Regions from separate parts of the Homo sapiens genome. Here all the other regions are linked to region 3. Evidence: promoter capture Hi-C in 16 types of primary human blood cells and fetal thymus (Javierre and others, 2016). All regions are on one chromosome and are shown on one strand. Each heading gives the region's core, a stretch centred on a gene start or on the middle of the fragment in contact. The rest is flanking DNA. Distances are from core to core; before and after follow the strand shown.

Region 1 (2,824 bases), core at 40-2,539, 370 kb before region 3:
TACAGACACTGTTCAAAGCTGGACCTTTCAATTGAAAGGTAGCTTATGCTTGTCGTTCTTCTGGTTAATGAGTTTCAGATTCCTGGATTGTTTGGTTTTGGCGATACTTAGAGTAATAATCCAGGAGAAAACTTTTGTTTACATGGGATAAAATTACAACATCTCAATTTGGATCAGAATGAGTTGACCATTCATGTAAGAACACTGAGGAATCGCTATGTACCAAGCTTGTATTTTGCCAGGTTTTGAGTTTGTGGTATTGAGAATGTGAAGTTAATTCAGACTTTCTGCCCTTAAGAAGATAACAGTCTAATAAACAGTAGAATGGCACTAACTATAGTGTATTTAGTATGACAAAGTCTCAGGTAAGAGAACATCTATGGAGAGGGCCTTGGAAAATGGGTAGGAAGGAGTCTAACAAATGGAGATTGAAAAACTGTGGAGGAACAATGTGAGGAGGGGTGTGGAGGACTAGCCTAGGTATAATTGCCAAGTAGTGTTGTTTTGATACTTGAGGTCTGTAAAGGGGAGTGGTGGAAAAGGGGGAAGGCAGGCGTTCACACCAGAATGTGAAGAAGCCTGAATGCCATATGAAGATGCCACTTCTCAGGACAAGTTGCTTCCGTGTGCTTATGGTAACAGTCTAGGGTAACAAAGGAAGAAAACATTTACGTGCCAGTTTTACTGAAGGACAAGATAACATATTTTATAGATTTAGTTTAATACAAACTTTAGTCCTTCATTATAGTAGACACCCCTTAAAGCACTGCTAAATGGCCCTTACTTGTGTATGTTGTTAATCTTTATAGAAATCAGTTTTTTAAAAGTAAAGTGAATTCCAAGTTTTTATTTTGTACCAGCTATTACGTGATAGGAAATGAGATAAAGCCTTAGTTTTTCTTTTGAGGGCTGTGTTTATTTGGTTAATAAGGAAATGTTGAATTTAATTATGTCTTAGATCATGGAGACAAATTGCTGGCTCTTCCATTTAAACCTTGTATTTTCCCAGAGTTGACAATACTGTTAAAAGTATGTCATCATCCTCTATCTTAAAAGCAGAAAATCTGGTCCTTTTGCTGTTCTGAACCATACAACTTGTGGATCATTGACCCCTTTGCCACCCCCATGTCCCAGCAGCATAGTAATAAACCTGTAAAGTGTTTGCTCACTCGTATGGAGAACGAAGTGACTTCTAATGTTCACATTCTTTTACAGTATTATATTTCCCCACGGGAGAGAATCTGTCCTAAGTAAGTAAAACAGGGCAAATCATTTCATTTTCTTGTTTGCTTTGAAGGAGCTAAACTTTCATCCTTAAGATTAAATTATCCATTTCTGCCATTTTATGTATTACCTGAAGCCATAATTTTCTATTTGACATCTCTTAATTGATTTTGGAAATAATTATGTCACAGATGGAGACATTTATGACTTCAGCTCTGAAGCAAAGAGCAGGACAAATGGAATTCTGAGTCACATAGACTAGCAACTCATGTAGATGGCCTCTGAGTTCCAGTGTTTTTCTAAAACACAAACTACCGCTTTTGATACTGATGAAAGTTGGCAGAGTGTTTGACCTCGAATTTATACTCCCCAGTAGCATATGGTCATTTGTAAATGTTAAATTGGCCTTGTTTTTTAAAGCATTGCATCTGTTGTGAAACAACAATACTGTAAAATAAAGCCAGGAACTGAAGAGGCTTGTTGATATAATCAAAGAAGTTTTAGAATATGGACATCAAAAATAAACCTGACAACAGATTTTAAGACCTAATTTTATAAACTTAGAACGTCTCTGTTTTTAAGTATAGTACCTGCAAGACATATTAACAGTGATTAACAGGTCTAATTTTAGTCAGCAGGTTTTGTTCCAATTTGTACAGTCATTTATATCCATTTAGACTAAAAAGTGAATTAAAATAGAACTGTATACCCATTCTTAATACATTATAAATTAATACTAAATGTCATAAATTCAGTTGTTTAGAGACTTGTAACCCAAGATTTTGTATTACTATTAGGATAAATGTGTATCTTTCATTAGACTTTAATTAATGGTCTATGTGTGTTCTCTAGCCACATAGTCTAGAAAAGTCGTCTCTAGCTTCTTTTTATTGTACACCCTGTCCAAAAAAAATGTGCATACTCCCAATATCTGGATATTTATGTATGAATAGTAAGTGTGCTTAATATATTACACATTATAAAACAAAATTCTTTATTAACAATTAATACTTTACACTGTTTCAATTTGTCTTCCCAATTTCTTAGGGTGGAACCACCCTTCAAGCTCTAACACAACTGAAATAGGGTTTATACGTCTGTGACCAGGAGAAAAAGAGAAAGCTTGGTCTTGCTGTACATAAATTTTCTCTTCAAGGAGAAGTACATATTTCATGAGAATAAATAGTTTCAGAATGATGCTACAGCACAGTGTCTTTTTCTTTTATGGGGATGAGGGTGCATTGTTGGACTTCTCTTTGCTTAGTACTATGTTAGGTGCTTCACCAGTGCCGTTTAACCCTGCTAGGTGGTTACTGCCGTTTAGAGAGGTAGAAACAGAGGTTCTGAGAGCTAACTTGCTCAAATAGTTGAGATTGGATTTAGCATAGTTTGACATCAGAAATAAAATTCTTTGTACTCTACATTGCCACTTCAGTATTGAAGCATTCTGCTCTGGAAGGTTAGTATTTTGGATTAACTTGTGCCCTAATCGTAGGATACTGAATTTCTAATATGCATAATTTAAAATACCACTATCCAAATTAGTTTACTTGATAAAATTTTGGTGTCTGTACTACCCACAAGGCACAGTTTTAATTGT
Region 2 (2,811 bases), core at 51-2,550, 350 kb before region 3:
TCTAAGTCTGGATCTGCCTTTCCCTGTGTGCCTGTGTTGTTTTTCTTGTTTACTTAAGTACTGGGGAAGAGAGACCTCAGGAAATCTGTGGGCCTATGTTACACGAAGTAGCCATACCACACTGGATAATCTGCAATGTGAATAACCAAGAATTAGGCAAACCTATTGTGAGACCTTTACCTTATTCCATTTTCACAACCTGGAAAGGTGGATGCTAAACTGAAAACAGGTTTGGCTAGCTGCTCAGTTATTGTAGTGTTCTATAATTCTTCCTGTAAAAGACTTTATATCAAAGGAATCCCTTTGCAAAGTAGACTTAGCAAGAATGGAGGCTAGAATAATAAAAAACAGGTATAAAATAGGGGTAGTAAACGTGTTTTTACAGATTATTCAGTGAATCTGTTAGCCCAAAACCAGACACTCGTTCTCAGTCTGCTACCTGCCCCTTCTATCCCTTAAATTTCTACTTTTCTCATTCTAAAACTTTTTATAAATAATGGAGATTGGGGATGTTTGTTTATAATACACTGTGAACATCTTTTCCTTGTCAGTATACTTCTACAACGTAATTTAATGGTAGCAGTAATATTCTCTTTTCTGGCTATCTCGTAACTTAACCATTTGCTCTTAGTGACTAATCGAAGTAACTATGGGCAGTGGAGCCCTGATGAAATACAGGGAAGGACATTGAGATGCCTCAGGAGGAGATTCAATTTAGTAAAGATTTAAAATAGCTGTTCTCTTTAAAGTGGCATACCTTCCCCCTCGGGTATATCAGAGTAACTCTTCCTATTAAGTTTCTTCAGCTGATTGTATGGAATAATTGAAAATTGTGAAAGAAATGTTCCCGCCATTGAGATTTTCTACTGCCTCCATATTCATTTATCTGCATTTTAAAGGATAGCATTTGTACACCAGTCAGGAAAACTTCATAAGGAGGATAAGTGATTAGATATTTTAAATAGTAAATGGAGTTCACTGGTCAGAGATTGGAATTGGGAGGGAAAATGGCTGAAGAGAAACCACACATTTCTAAGCCCTTGGGGTGAGTTTAGATCCTCATTAGTCTCATGGAAAATGGGGATATTTGTAACTTGATTACTAAATGAGCTGTAAAAATAGACTTCCTGCTGCCTTTGAATGTGTTTTAAATGATAAATCTTCAATCTCTAAAAGCATGTGCGTAAGTACTTTCCTTTTGTAATGTGGAAGTTTTAAGAAGGAACTACAGTATTCAGCTGAGTTTAAAACAAAAACTGAAAAGAACTGGCTTAGTAAGAAGAGGCTTGCTAGTTTAAGAAGAGGCAGTAAATGAGAATCAAGATTATATAAATCTGCTCAATTCCTACCAGTAACATTTCAGTTTACCCAAAGCTGCTAGCAGTGTTATGCATAATTTACTGCATATATTAATATGGAGCATGAGGATGGGACAAATCAGTCACACCATCTTCAGGGCTGCACAAAACTTAAGGATACAAACATGACCTGTACCATAAAGTAAGTCAGATGGTGGTTCTTCTAAATTAGAATCTTCTTGGATAAGTCAGCAATAGTTTGCCTGTATTCAAAATGGAAAATCTGAGGGTTTCTGATTTAATCCTGAAACTGAGTGTAATTACTTAAAATTTGGAAATAAAATGTAGATATTCCCCTATATTAAAGCATTAAGGCTTTTATATCTGTTTCATGACATTTTCAAGATCAGAAACACTGAGTGGAACTTTTGACATGATCTGTTTCTGCAATTTCAGGGAAATTACCAAAGTATCACAAGGGACATGAATGGGTAGTGGTTTCAAGTCTACTTGAGTCAGATGTGAAGTGCTAGGCATTATACCTTAACGATAAAACTAGGGCTAGGTGCAGTGGCTGATTGATGCCTATAATCCCAGCACTTCGGAAGGCCGAGGCTGGAGGATCACTTCAGCCCAGGAGTTCAAGAGCAGCCTGGGTAACAGGGAGACCCTGTCTCTAGAAAGCTAAAATTTCAAAAAGGATTGAGGGAATACTTGATAATTTGTGGATTTGGCTAATGCCCAACATGTGTAAATTAGCCAGGTTTATTAGGTGACAGGAGAATGTGATCATAGAGTTAATAAATAGCAATACCTATTGAAAAATTATTAGTATTGTTGAAGTAAAATTTTCTGAAAGACCATTTAAAACAACAGAGAAATACTGGACAGATAGACTGTGTTGCCCAGGCTGGCCTCAAGCGATCCTCCAGCTTCGGCCTCCCAGAGTGCTAGGATTACAAACATGAGCCACTGTGCCCAGCCTACTTAGGATGTTTTTTAAAAAATCCTGGAAGCTCTAGTTATCTAGAGGCTAGGCAGATCTTTCTAAGTTTGTGTCATCAGTGGATGGGTGAAGGTTCTCAGAATTCATATTCTGAGAGCTGCCATCTCATTTGAATTTGAGAAAGCAAACTCCAAAATCTGCTTCTCTTGGACTGTTCCCAGTGGCTTTTCTTGAACCACACATAATCCAATGAAAAGATCTTATTCTCATGACTAGAAACTTGTGAGAACTCTTGAGTCAGTCGTCTTTTATGTTTTCCTAAGCAGGTGATTCCAAGTGCTTTTTCAAAAATGCATCCTTATGTTGAAGATTGTATTTGTGGTCAAGGATTTCAGAAATGGTCCCTTTTCTTTGCTAGTAGGCAAGCTTTTTTGATGTTCCTATTACTTTAGATGGTGCCCTTATCTTTTTAACTTTCCCCAGGAATAGCATCCTTCTGCCATCCCTTCCACCGTCACCACTACTTAGACACCCTTAGGTGCCACCCCTTCCCGAGAAAAGATAGAA
Region 3 (2,735 bases), core at 83-2,582:
TCATCTCTGTGGCTGCCTCCCAGTTGCAGGCAGAGGCAGCCATCTTTCTTCCTCCTCCAGAGCTAACCCTTTCCCTCGTGCCCTTGATGCCCCCTCCACCTCTTCCTATTACCACTACTTGGCACCAGCCACATATTAGGGCTCCCTTGCAACCACTTTCAAACAAGGCCAGGCTTTATTCCATTTCAAAAAGCACACAAGAAAACCAAAATGCTTTTGCCTGACCTTGCTGTCTCTTCTAGTCTATTTATTGCTTTCCTTTTGCAGCAAGACATCTCAATTTCCTCTTTCCTCATAGCCCCTTAGTTTTGCAGTCTAGCTTCCTTTCTCTGTCACTCTATTGAAATTGTGTCCTCAAATGTCACAGTGGTTCCCTTGTAACTTAATCTGAAGAGGGTGGTGTTTTAGCCTCATTCTTCTTATTTTCTCAGCAGCATCGATTTTCTTTCTGCCTTTTTCTTTCATCTTCCACTCTGACATAGTTCTCTGGTTTATATTTTTCTGTTTATCTCCTGGGTTTTCTAGACCAGTCCAGTGCATAGCATCATGGCTGAGTCCAAGCTCTTACATTAGCCTGCCTGTAGCTGAATTTTAACTGCCACAAATTAACTGCATGACCTTTGTCAAGGTAATCTCCCTGTGCCTCAGTTTCTCCAGCCTTAAAATGGAGACTATAGTAGGAGTATTAACCTTTGGTTTGATGTAACAATTGAATGAGATAGTCTATGTAATATTTATCACAACATTTGGCACACAGAAGTTTTAATTGAATGTTATCTATTAGCATAACAATAAGTGCCTCTGTCTTTGAAAATATAACTGTTCTTTTTTCCTTTCAGGACATATTTTCTCCCTTTATGACCCAATGCAGAGCGAGACGATAACTAATTATTGTTAAATAGATTTATGCACGTGTTTGGAGAGTCAGGGAAGGAGGGCTGATGAGAGAGAGAGGCTCCTAAATTCTGCAGGTGCTGTAATTCCCCGGTTTTAATTTTGCTTTGCTTTTTACCAATAAATCATTTTGAGAGCTTAAATCGCTCCTTTCGGGACATACGGTGTTTCTTGAGCAGGAAGGGACGTCAACGGTTAAAGCTCTTGTTGTTGGTGCAACAATCAGCCACGATGAGGCTGCTTGGCATGGAACACAGTGTCCCATCCTTAGATTAAATGCGCTCTAACAGGATTATGTAAGGAAGGAGGCAGCCACGGCGGCGGCTTTGTGCAGGGGTCGCCTGGAACCCGTCCATTGAGTCATGCCGCCATCTCGCGGCCGCATGGGGAACGGGCCTTGGCAGGGAGGTTTTGTTTGGTGCAGAGGAAAGGTCCCCAGAATTGCCATCTGCAGAATTTCTGCAGAAAGTGTCGACCAGGCTGGCATGAGGGAAGAAGGAGGGGAAATCACAGCAAGGAGAAGGAAAAACACCTCAGCATGGCGTGGGGAAGCAAAGGTAGCAAGTCATGCTTGTGCCACCCTACAATATTCTTGTCGGTTTCATTCCAGAACAATTCCCTCCCCTGCCCAAATACTCTATAAACTTTGACTTTCCCCTCTTATTTGATTCTCACTTTCCAACACTCTGTGCCGACCCGTTATCCTGGACAGACCCTGCGTCACCTCCTAATTTCCCTTCTTGTATGTTAGGAATTCAGGGCTGGGAAAATTTAGCCGAGTCATCACATTTGGCTACTACCCGGGAAAGCAGCCCTCCCGAGTCAGGAACGGGCTCCGGTTCATCACGTGGCAGCCGCCTGCAGGAGCCGCAGGTAAGGGACACTGTTGGCCGGGGCAGCCAGATGCAGCGGGAGGCGTCCTGGCTGCACTTGGGTTCCCAAAACCTTTCTGGAATGTCACTCTGGTCACCAGTATGGGAGCTCGACCTCTAGGGGGTAGGATTTGGTAATGTTCTCTTTGTAAAACTGAAGTGGGCAATGTTGACCAGGAAGCTGATTTTGTTTGCTTTTCACAAACTATGTTAATCGATCAATAGTTGGGTTATAGATCATTCTATTGTCAGCAATATAATAGAATGGCAGGGACTCAGGGAAGATATTGACACTTTAAACTGAAATGTCTATGCGGTCTGTCTTCCCTCGTTCAGCTCACAGGACATTGCCTGGGAGCTGAACCTAGGCTTATAGCACAGTGACTGAAAGGATATCTTTCAGAGTCCTAAAATCTGCTCTGCCAGTATTTGACTTTGAGTTAATTGTTCAACATTACTTTAAGCCCAGTTTCTTCTTTTCTAAAATGAAGACGATTTTTTTAATATTAATTTTTTTTTTCATTTTTTTGAGACAGGGTCTTGTTGTGTTGCCCAAGCTGGGGTGCGGTGGCCCGATCTCGGCTCACTGCAACCTCTGTCTCCTGGGTTCAAGTGATTCTTCTGCCTCAGCCTCCTGAGTAGCTGGGACTACAGGTGTGCACCACCATGTCTGGCTAATTTTTGTATTTTTAGTAGAGGCGGGGTTTCACCATGTTGCTCAGGCTGGTCTTGATCTCCTGACCTCAAGCAATCTGCCTGCCTCAGCCTCCCAAAATGCTGGGATTTATAGGCATGAGCCACCACACGCAGCCTACTATTGTCATTTATAAGTTCAGTGTTGGAAGGATTTTTAAGCAATCTAACAGTTTCTTCTGCTCATTTTACAGATGAGATAAAATCAAAGTGTTTTATAATTTTGGCCTTCATAATATACCTTTTGGCTTCAATAAATAAAAGGATTATTGACCA

The links. Contacts are between HindIII fragments. The CHiCAGO score rates a contact against its expected background, and 5 or more counts as called.
Region 1: a fragment that was not itself captured here is called in contact with the fragment with the promoter of MRO in region 3 in 1 of 17 cell types (neutrophils); the score reaches 6.2 in neutrophils.
Region 2: a fragment that was not itself captured here is called in contact with the fragment with the promoter of MRO in region 3 in 1 of 17 cell types (neutrophils); the score reaches 5.9 in neutrophils.

What each region holds. Positions count from the first base shown.
Region 1 is chr18:51,192,510-51,195,333 of GRCh38, reverse strand. All of the region lies in intron 1 of MEX3C (mex-3 RNA binding family member C), which reads left to right. Among named protein-coding and RNA genes, the nearest start is that of MEX3C, 3.8 kb to the left of the region's middle. RefSeq lists a silencer at 341-635. The HindIII fragment of the contact is 2,119 bases long and covers 230-2,348 here.
Region 2 is chr18:51,170,450-51,173,260 of GRCh38, reverse strand. No RefSeq gene overlaps it. Among named protein-coding and RNA genes, the nearest start is that of MEX3C, 26 kb to the left of the region's middle. The HindIII fragment of the contact is 2,745 bases long and covers 1-2,672 here.
Region 3 is chr18:50,818,613-50,821,347 of GRCh38, reverse strand. It overlaps MRO (maestro), which reads left to right and starts at 1,332. Exons shown (of 8, transcript NM_031939.6): 1 at 1,332-1,451; 2 at 1,646-1,767. RefSeq lists enhancers at 1,128-1,177, 1,014-1,647. The HindIII fragment of the contact is 17,012 bases long and covers 1-2,735 here.